3 separate regions of the Homo sapiens genome follow, and all the other regions are linked to region 2. Evidence: promoter capture Hi-C in 16 types of primary human blood cells and fetal thymus (Javierre and others, 2016). All regions are on one chromosome and are shown on one strand. The core of a region is centred on a gene start or on the middle of the fragment in contact, and the rest is flanking DNA. Distances in the headings are between cores, read along the strand shown.

Region 1 (3,718 bases), core at 196-2,695, 640 kb before region 2:
GAAGGGCCCAGCTGTGAGTGATAGCCAGTGACAGTGGTGTAATGAAGTGAGGTGGCTTTTCTCATGGAGCAGCAGGTCAAAGGTGAGTAATATGGGGTAGTGCAGCTGCTGTGCAATGCCTTCCTGGATTTTGGGTTTCCTGTCTTGATGGTTCTTTATCCTCATGCTTGTCACCTCATGGTCTCAACATGGCTGCTGCAACCTCAGCCATCTTGTCTGCATTCCAGGAAGAAATTGGAGGGCAGGGCCTAGGGACCAAGGGGCCTTCCAGCAGATGCTTCTTCCTCTTAGAAAAGCAAAAGCCCCAGTCAGTCAGCTTCTTGTCTTGTTGCTCTGTCCAGAGTGGTGCCTTGAAGGCTTCTTCCCAGCTTCTTATTCCTAGCTGGAAAGGTGGCTTCGAATTTCTTTCTTTTCTATGATGTTTCTAAAGTCTCCATTGTGTTTGCTGGGATAAGATAGTTGACCTAATTTTGGGGACTTCTAAATAAAGTTTTCTCTAGACAAAGAGGTAATAACTGAGAAGGATTCTCTTAAAAAAAAGAATAGCAATTTAGTGAATTACAGAACATAGCTGGAAAAATAATAATGTCCAAACATGAAGTAGTCTGTGATCTTTACCTGTAGTTTTAATGTCGAGGACTTGTGGTTCTGCTATCTCCAGGAGACTTTTTTGTCTATATCTTCACTTCTCAGTGCCATTTCCCCTGCTGTAACTTTGGTGAAGCTGCTTATGTCAGAAGACATGTGGGGAAAAGGAATGCATGGATTGGTTTGTTTTTTGTAATTGGCTGTTAACAGCCTGAGGTGACAAGGGGAGGGATGAAGCTCTGCAGAGCCATGTGCATGCCCATGAGCCCGGCACATGTGCTGCACTGGTTTCTCTGATGGTCTCAATTCTCCACTCCAGCCCGTGCACATGCTTTTGTTAATGTTACTCGCATCTTTTTCTATCAAAAGATGGAAACTATTTCTCCACCCCTGGAATTCTGGGCTGGCCTTAAGACTTGCTTCGATCAATAGCAATGATGAAAATGACAGTATTCCCATTCTGGATTTTGGTCTCAGGAAGCCTTTCATGCCTCTGCCTTGACCATGAGAACAAGTCCAGGCCAGCATGCTGGAGGAAGAGAGACCACACGGAGCAGAGCCCAGGCCATCCTTGGCCAGTCAACACCATCTAACCCCAAATGTGTGATGTGTGAGGGACCCTGGCCAGGACCAGCAGAACCACTCAACTGACCCACAGACTGAGGAACAGTAATGATGGTTGTTGTTTCGAGGCACTGTGTTTTGGGATGGTTTGTTAGGCAATGTTCTTTTGGCAATAGTTAACTAATACTGCATGTTTTGAGGTATTTTATATTCATTTTTACATTTAATCTTAATAACAGGCCATCATGTTACTGATACTATATCTGTCTTAGAGACAAGCAATCTGAGTTTCACAGAGATGAAATAATTCCCCAAATCACAGAGCTAGAAAGTGGTACATCTTTTCATTGACACAAGATTTGTCTTATTTCAAAACCCATTCCCTCTGCCCAGCCTCTCTGAATCTGAGGAGCACTTGTGAACAGGGGCCTTAGTTCCACATGAAGAGCAGAGTGAAGAGGTGCAGGCAAGGGTTCAGCGTGGTCACAGTACTCTAGTGCTGCGTAGAAACCAACTTCATAATCTCAGTAATGGTCTATCAATCAAAACCACAACGCAATACCACCTTACTGTTGCAAGAATGGCCATAATTAAAAAAAATTAAAAAATAATAAATATTGGCTGGGGTATGGCGAACAGGGAATACTTCTACACTGCTGGTGGGAATGTAAACTACTACAACCACTATGGAAAACAGTGTGGAGGTTCCTTACAGAACTAAAAGTAGAACTACCATTTGATCCTGCAATCCCACTACTGGGTATCTACCCAGGGGAAAATAAGTCATTATACGAAAAAGATACTTCCACACACGTTTATAGCAGCACAATTCACAATTGCAAAAATATGGAACCAGCCCAAATACCTGTCAATCAATGAGTGGATAAGAAAATGTTATATGTACACACACACACACACACACACACACACACACACCACTGAATACTATTCAGCCATAAAAAAGAATGAAATAATGGCATTTGCAGCAACCTGGATGGAATTGGATACCATTATTCTAAGTGAAGTAACTCAGGAATGGAAAACCAAACATCATATATTCTCACTCATAAGTGTGGGAGCTAAGCTATGAGGATGCAAAGGCATAAGAGTGACACAATGGACTGTGGGGACTTGGAGGAAAGGGTGGGAGCAGGTTGAGGGATAAAAGACTGCATATTGGGTGCAGTGTACACTGCTCGGGTGATAGGCGCACCAAAATCTCACAAATCACCACTAAAGAAGTTACTCATGTAACCAAACACCACCTGTTCCCCAAAAACCTATGGAAATAAAAATACAATACAGTTTAAAAAACCCAAAACCAAAATTAATGTATTGTACACAAAAATTTAAGAGAGAAAACCTCATGTTAAGTGTTCTTACCACAATAAAAGAAAATAAAAGAAAAACAAAACAAAAAAGAAAAGAACTTCAGGTTCCTCTGTGGCTGGGCAGACATTTTCTTCCTCTACTGTCTCTCCAATTTCCCCATGTGTTGTACCTCTTGGGTTATTTTATGCTAGAAGGAGTTGACAGTGAGATGCAAGAGTCTTCTGATTTTTTTTTAAATTGACAAATAATTGTATATATTTATGGGGCAAAATGTGATTTCTTGATATATGTATAAATTGTGGAATAATTAAATCAAGCTAGCTAACTTATCCTCACCTTACTTATCATTTTTTTTAGTGGTGAGAACATTTAAAATCTAATCTTTTAGCAATTTTGAAATTTATACTACATTATTTTTAACTGTAGTCACCATGCTGTGCAATAGATCACTAAAACTTATTCCTCCTGTCTAACTAAAACATTGTTTTGACCCCTAACTTCTCACTTCCATATCTTCCCACCTCCCTGCTACCCCATCCTGTGGTAACCATCTGCTCTCTGCTTTCAAGAGTTAAGCTTTCTTAGATTCCAGATGTAAGTGAAAGCATGAAGTCTTTGTCCTTCTGTGCCTGGCGTATTTCACTTATAGCAATGTCCTCCAAATTTACCCATATTGCCACAAATGTCGGGATTTTCTTCTTTTCTTTTTTAAGACGGAAGAGTATGACATTGTATATCTATACCACATTTTCTTTATTCATTTATTCATTGGTGGACACCTGGGTTGATTCCATATCTTGGATATTGTGGATAATGCTGTAGGCAACATGAGAGAGTGCAGGTATCTCTTTGATATAGTGATTTCAATTCCTTTCGATATAAAACAAGTAGTGAGATTGCCAAATCATATGGTAGCTTTATTTTTATTTATTTTTGTTGTTGTTGTTGATACGGAGTCTCACTCTGTTGGTCTCACTCTGTTTCCCAGGCTAGAGTGCAGTGGTGCGATCTCGGTTCACTGCAACCTCTGCCTCCCTGGTTCAAGTGATTTTCCTGCCTCAGCCTCCCAAGTAGCTGGGATTACAGGCACGTACTACCACGCCTGGCTAATTTTTGTATTTTTAGTAGAGATGGGGTCTCACCATGTTGGCCAAGCTGGTCTCAAATTCCTAACCTCAAGTGATCCACCTGCCTTGGCCTCTCAAAGTGTAGGGATTACAGGCATAAGCCACTG
Region 2 (3,355 bases), core at 676-3,175:
GTGCCGAGTGGAGTCTCCATTAGGGCAGCGCTATTGATTTCTGATTCACACTGCAGCAACAGGGCTAGAGCTCAGAAGAAAAAAAAATCACGTCTCAGAAACAGGAATTACAAAGACAAAAATAAGTAGATAGATAGTTTTATACAAAAATCAAGCATCTGTTACCAAAGGAAAGCAAAACTGACAATTTAGCAAAATTTAAAGACTGTTTATAACATAGAATAAGATGTATAGGAGAAGTAGAGTAAAATGAGTTTAGAAAAATTATTCGTTCTAATTTTTCAACCATTTTTTTGAGAGGTGATAATGGTCTAATTTCCAGAATGCCTTGAAAAACCCTGGAATACTCGGCAGAGGTGCTGCAAAGTAAAGCTTATTTGAGGGCAATCTTGAAGCTATGCCTGAGAATTTTAAACAACAAAATATCCAAGATTTATTTTTTCAATTGTGTTCGATTATTTTATTAGCTAGTAGCTTTCTCTGTTTTAATTCTCTGTGTTGCATAATATCTAGGATACAGTAACAGGCTGGTTGCAAATGCTCGAAACAGAAATAGGTTTCTTCATAGGCTGTGTTTCAGCATGTCCAACTGTGAGCCTGTGAAGCAGAGCATCGGAGTTCTCTCGAGGTCTGTTGCTTCAGATTTGGTTAGAAATTATTGAATCTGGAGTGTAAAAATCTTGTCTGGGCCTTTTAGGCAGCTTGATTTTAAAACTAGCCCTTCTGCCCCAAGACTTATCAACCGCCCCCCCACCCTGTCCCAAAAGAAAAGCTGAAGTAAGTTCAGTGTTAAAATAATGGTGCTGTCAGGCAGGCAGTCTGCATGTGAGCAGCAGAAAATTAGAAGAATAGAACCATCCATTCTCGTTTCCCCCCGCGACATGCACGCACACATACGTGCACACACACACACACACCACACACACACACACAGACAACACCAGTCAGTGAAGGGGGAAAAGGGTGATACCTTTTTAAAAAATGAAAGGCAGTAAGCCATTATTAGCAAGAGCTATATTGAGCATGCTTGCCAGACAAGCAGCAAAGCTGAGCTCCAGTTCCGCCCAGACATGTGCCTTGCCATTTTCATTTTAATCAGCCTGCTCAGGATGGCTGCTGATTCATTTTGCAGGATGTCCCCCTGGGAGCCAAGGTGGAAGCCTGAGGCGAGCTGCTATTGCATCAATGCAGCACATCAGAGCGAGAGCGCGGAGGCAGAGGGAGGAGAGAAAGCCTTCAGCACCGCATCCCGATTTCAATATGGCTAGTTAGAAGGTCCTGCATGAAACCGAGTCTATTGCAGAAAACATAATGAAAGGAAAGGAAAAGAAAAAAGTCACATTGTCATTTCATTATCCAACTATTCTCTCCCCCAACCCCTTCTTGCCACCAACAGACACACACACGTACACATTTTACAGTGACCATGAAAGATTTCAAGCCACTCTGTGGAAGTGTGTGTGTGTGTGTGTGTGTGTGTGTGTGTGTGTACTATTTACCTGGTAACTAGCTGGGGTGGTATACCTGATTTAGCTGGAGACTTTGATTTGTAGGACTGACAACCTTATTATGCAGTGAGTTTATTATTGATATTATTCTGCTCTCGGTTGCCATGGCCACCTTGTGAGAGACATTCAATTTTCTCTCTTCCATCATCATTATCTATGAGGCCATCTGTTGTGGAAAATGAATTCAGCCTCATTTGCATGACTGATAAGCAATTTTTTTTTTTATCTATTTAACAGAAGGTCATATGCCGGGGATTTGGAGCTTGTGAAAAAAAAATGTGGAAAAAAAAAAAAGCCTAGGAGAGGATGAGTGGGAGCGTGTGCATGGGGGTGTGTGGAAGTCAAACAGATCCCTGAGGCCTGCGAGCCTATCGCGCTGCATTTGTCATTCCTGCCCGGGCGACATTTTTTTTTTCCCTAAGCTACTGCACACTAAACAGTGAGAGAGCTTTTCCCTGCAGTCTTGTTGAAGCACCCCGGGTTTTTTGCTCATTGTTGGTGGGTGCATTTTAATTTTTTCATTCCCTGGACTATGGGTTATGATATCCATACTCACTGAAGACAAAAAGCCACCTTTTCTGCGTCTTGGTGGCATGCATGTGTCTCATCATCCTTTCAAACTTGTGGTGGAACAGGGTTTTCTTCCCTGTCTGTGTATTTTGAGCCAGCACAGTTACCAAAATTGAACTTGTCTTTCGCTTGTGAGCGGTTGTGGTCATTGTGAGGTACGTGATGTTCGTTAGGTTAATTTTTCGGGGAACTTAGTGAGCAGGATGTGTTTTACCGTAGCTCAAGGGCTGAGGCTGCTATTCCATTGTCTGCTCCTTTTTAAAGTTATTTTTACAGCATGGCTGGTAGCTGAAATGTTCCTGGACTGGAGGCTTTGTAATCCACAAAAAAATCTGTCTTTAAACTAAAATGGGTATTAGGTTGCATGACTTAACTGTGATGTTGTTTATTAAGAAAAAAAGAAACAAAAACAAAACGGGGTGCATGTATGGTGTTTGGAGGATAAGAGGATACTGAAACAAAAACTTCCCAGAGACTTTACTGGATTACTTTACATTACAAATGAAGCACATCATTTTATGCAAAGGCAATTAAAATGTTAGCTATTTTGGATGAATTTACCTGATGGTAAGAAGAAAGTTGATTTATATTGTTTAAGTGGAGAAACTCAAATAAAGATTTTTAAATTTAACTTAAATGTTTGAAGTTCATAATAATGAAAGAAAATGTTATTTATAACAGAAATATGTCTTTTTGTAACACCTAAATTAATAAACTAAAAGATTAAACTCTACACTTTAGTTTTAAGATAGATCTGAATAAAGCAAAAATATATATGTAAATATTTATATGAAAGTTAGCTATATAAAATATAGAGAACAGATTTTGAATTTAGTATTAACCATGACAATTTCTTGTACCATCAAAGCTATATAAGCTAAATAATTTCTAAGTTACTTAGAGTAAAACTATTTTATATAAGAGCCTTTTTGTTCAAATGTTTATATTTTCTACTAAACAAAATTAACGTCATAGACCAAAGCATCCCAAAACCACCCTTACTGGCATATGAGGGTCTTTCTAATTGTTCATCTTCATTTAGTGTCATGTAGCTTTAAAAATAATAAAGTCATGTCTCCCATACAGATAAAAATGTAATTATTTTTAAAAGAAAAGAGTTTTATAAAATATTCCTTTTCAAAAAAAAAAACAGCATTGCATTCCTATAAGTTTTCACCTCTCAAGAACTTTGAATCCAAAGTGTTGATTGTAAGTTATAAATGCTACTAAGAGAAACATTCCAGAAAAAAAGGAAGTTTGTTTTTTCTGATTGACCT
Region 3 (3,817 bases), core at 485-2,984, 610 kb before region 2:
GTATTGTAGTAAAGGTGGGCATGATGTTATCTAGCTTTCTATATTTTAAGTGGAAGCCAGAATCTGCATTTTTTTTTTTTTTTTTGAGATGGAGTCTCGCTCTGTTGCCCAGGCTGGAGTGCAATGGAGCAGTCTCAGCTCACTGCAACCTTTGCCTCCTGGATTCAAGCAATTCTCCTTTCTCAGCCTCCCAAGTATCTGGGATTACAGGCATGTGCCAACAAGCCTGGCTAATTTTTGTATTGTTAGTAGAGATAAGGTTTCACCACGTTGGCCTGTCTGGTCTCGAACTCCTGACCTCCGGTGATCCGTCCTCCTTGACCTCCCAAAGTGCTGGGATTACGGGCATGAGCCACCGCGTCCAGCCTGCCTTTATATTTTTAATTATTAGTAGCTCTTTTAGTTCTCTCAATATTTTCTTTCTGAGCATCCTGTTCTTGCAATATGGGTGCAGTATCTTCTCTCATAGGTGACTATTAATGATAATGTCTCCTTCTTAAGTTTCTTTTTTCCATTATAGTCTCTGCTTCCTACAGGTTGCTTTTGCTCCCGTTGGATTGTTCTGGTCACTGGCTTCCTCGTTAGGAGCACTTCTCTGAGGTCTAGAATTCCTTGACCATCAGCTCATGATTAAGAGTGACAGGTCAGCAATCAGTTTGGCAGTTCTGAAAGCTTGAGCAGAGTTGGTCAACCGTGGGCTTCCCTGCAGAGCCTCTGCAGCTTCTTGGTTCTTTCCTTTTTGGTGACTCAGAGTCCCAAGAGGAGGTCCTTCCAGTCTCCCATATGGAGATATATGTCTGGCTGCCTGCTGGAGGCTGAGTATCTGGTTCCAGAGTATTTCATTTCAGTTTTAAAAGGACTTTACGAATGTCTTTCTGGAATACTATTCCTCTTTCTTTGTTTATTACTCCTTTCCCAAATCTAGGAAAAGTTGTGCCTATTTAGAGTGCCTAAATAGACTTGAACATTTAATTAAACTCTGCAGGGTGGCCTTGTTCCTACTTTCCTATCAACTTCCTAGGAGTGTAAGCATTGGACTTTCAAGCCCAGAGCAAAGGACTTTCATGTGCTTCTCCCTTTCAGCCCTGAGACTGGGTGCAGGCTCACAGATCCTCCATGTTTATGAAGAGAAAAAAGTTATGAAGAGGCTGATTAGCCAAAGCCTCAGCCCTGGGCTCCTGGTGAGTGCTGGACAGAACCTTGCTTTGCTTCTGCATCTATGTTTGTGCCACGTCGCTCAGGATCTTAGACTTTCTTCCGGAGACCAGGAGCTCATCTGCACCCACAACGAGTGATGGCAAATGGTCAGAGGAAAAAGGGAGCCAGAACTAGGAAGACTTAGGAGGTGGCCCCACAGCAGGGAGGAGGGCACATTTCTCCTCCTCATCAACAACTGCAAGCCCCTGGGGCTTGGCATCTTGCCAAGCTGTTGCACATCATTTTGTGAATCCTCCCAATGGCCTGCGAGCCAGGAACAATGAATTTTATGAACCCCTCCCCCCTACTTAAAAGTTGGGTACATTGAGACTCAAGAGGAAAGGACTTTCCTAAGGAAGAGTACTTCCATGTGCACAGCAGACAGCTGATGTCTCAGAGGCTTGACGCTGCAGCCGTTGGTGGGCGCTAGCCTGAATTAATGAAGTGGGGCTTCACCAACACCTGGGTATGTGCGGAAACTTGGGATGGGCTCGTGTACACTTAACGAAGAGAAATCCTTGCACCTGGTTTAAGAAGTGGAGAAGCTGAGGTAATGGGTGCATGGCTGGCTGGCCTGGAAGTACAGGGCTCTCAGGTACCTGTGGGCGGTCCCCACCCTTGGCCGTAAACAGGTGGCTTATGGCCTCTGCAGTGCTGTCTGTGCAACTGAGTTCTTCATCATGAAGGTTACAGATGAGCTTGTTCTCCACTCCGCATTAACATAAATTCTGAATTAGTAATGCTGAAATAAATTCTCATTGTGAAATACGTGAGAGGGAGGTGGCTGGGCAGGCAGTTGGGAAAGCAGGGCGACTTTGGACAGGAGCACCCCTTGGCTTCATTCCCTCTGTGACCCCCAGCCTCCTGCCAGCCAGGTTCTAGCTGAGGTTTGCCTGCTTTTCCTAGTGTGGCCCGTAAGTATCTCCAGGCACACACAGCAGACTTTCCTTGTTGCCCGTGATTGGCTTCTTCATTTGAGTTTCTTTAAAAAGCAAACCTGGGTAGGAGCCCCTTAGCATTCCAGCGGGCTGCCTGGGCTGATGTGCTAGAGGATGCGGGGCCGCTCATGCGCCCAGAGCTTGAGAAATCACCAGACAGGGCCAGGCTCCTGGTGTCGGCTGTCAGCAGCGCCGGCAGGATAATAAATCAACCTGTCTCATGTCAGGGGTCAGCTCGTTTGATGTTTAAAGCATTTGGGCCAATCTAATCAGGCCGAGCATAGCCCATCCGAGCATGAGCCGCTGCCGCCATGACGAGGCTGAGCTTGCTCTGAGCTGATGTTCCCTGACCTGACAGCTTTGGGGCCTTGGGACCAGGCAGGTGCAAAGTACAGAGTCTGGAGTTGAGGGACAGGAGCCTCCTGCTAGCGTGTGTTAGCCGGGAGAAAACCTTGTATTTGGCAATGGCGGGGGCCAGTTACCAGCTGTTTAGCGTGAGGGAGACTTGGCTTTCATTTGGTTCATTTGGTAACCCTCTTAGTGCACTGAGGAGCAGGGCCGGCTCTGCAATTTGCGGGGCCCCGTGCACAATGAAATTGTGGGGCCCCTTGTTCAAAAAGTGAGAGTGAAGTACCTTTGACGGCGGTGAAAGGTAAGCTTTTTCCTTTCTTCCACGGTCTTGCTCTTCACAAGGCAGGTTTTTATTGGATAATTACTGCAGTTCTAAATAAAAAAACAAAAATTTGAATAATCAGCATAAATTTTACCTTTCGTCTTCATACTGTGCAAAGTTAGTTTTAAATGTAAATATGAGGATTTAACTTGCACAAAGAATCATATAGTGACACAATTTGTATTTCATGGCTTGTCTCCCGTGGCTGCCATGGAGAGATCAATCCGCAGTGAGCCAGGGAGGTTGAAGGAGGGAGGGTCTCCCAGGCACAGAGCCAGTGAGGAGCGCTGTCCAGGCACCGGCATCCTTGTGAACCCTGACAAGTGCCCAAGGCCCTCTCGAGCCCTGTGTCCTGGCAGGGGACAGGCTCTGGGGACCTCTCAACCCCTGTGTCCTGGCAGGGACAGGCTCTGGGGACCTCTCAACCCCTGTGTCCTGGCAGGGGACAGGCTCTGGGGACCTCTCAACCCCTATGTCCTGGTAGGGGACAGGCTCTGGGGACCCCTTAACCCCTGTGTCCTGGCAGGGGCAGGCTCTGGGGACCTCTCGACCCCTGTGTTCTGGCAGGGGACAGGCTCAGGGGAATTTGAGCCAAACATTTCCCCTCCACAGCCCACAGCCCCAACCAGAGCATACAGGTGGCCCTGGGATCTTTACACCTTGGTGGGGAAACAGGCTCAGGACGTGGGTCAGGAGTGACAGTAGGCGTCACCCCACCCAACGCCGCCCGCCCAGGCTGGGATGTGGGCCCTCCATGCTAAGGCCCCCGGGCAGAGGTTCCCCAAAGCTTGGATGACAGCAGGTGGTAGAGCAGGGCAGGGCAGCCAGGTGGGGATGGCTGGGGCTTTGGAGCTGGTGGTCCAGACCTCACCCCAGGGAGGCGTGTGGTGGGATCTCGGGTGGCCGAGCCTCCATTGTCTTGTTGATTTCTCTCGCGGAACACAAGTGCAGAGACAACCTCAATAAACATTTGCGACAATGACAGCAGAACTGTCGGCCTTCTGAGCGG

What was found. Contacts are between HindIII fragments. The CHiCAGO score rates a contact against its expected background, and 5 or more counts as called.
Region 1: a contact is called between a fragment that was not itself captured here and the fragment with the promoter of MYT1L in region 2, in 1 of 17 cell types (M2 macrophages). The highest score is 5.1, in M2 macrophages.
Region 3: a fragment that was not itself captured here is called in contact with the fragment with the promoter of MYT1L in region 2 in 1 of 17 cell types (M2 macrophages); the score reaches 5.1 in M2 macrophages.

Annotation. Positions count from the first base shown.
Region 1 is chr2:2,968,301-2,972,018 of GRCh38, reverse strand. The region is part of intron 3 of LINC01250 (long intergenic non-protein coding RNA 1250); the gene reads left to right. Among named protein-coding and RNA genes, the nearest start is that of LINC01250, 160 kb to the left of the region's middle. The HindIII fragment of the contact is 3,235 bases long and covers 1-3,062 here.
Region 2 is chr2:2,329,845-2,333,199 of GRCh38, reverse strand. MYT1L (myelin transcription factor 1 like) reads left to right here and starts at 1,925. Exons shown (of 25, transcript NM_001303052.2): 1 at 1,925-2,233. The HindIII fragment of the contact is 6,340 bases long and covers 375-3,355 here.
Region 3 is chr2:2,939,978-2,943,794 of GRCh38, reverse strand. All of the region lies in intron 5 of LINC01250 (long intergenic non-protein coding RNA 1250), which reads left to right. Among named protein-coding and RNA genes, the nearest start is that of LINC01250, 180 kb to the left of the region's middle. The HindIII fragment of the contact is 2,120 bases long and covers 675-2,794 here.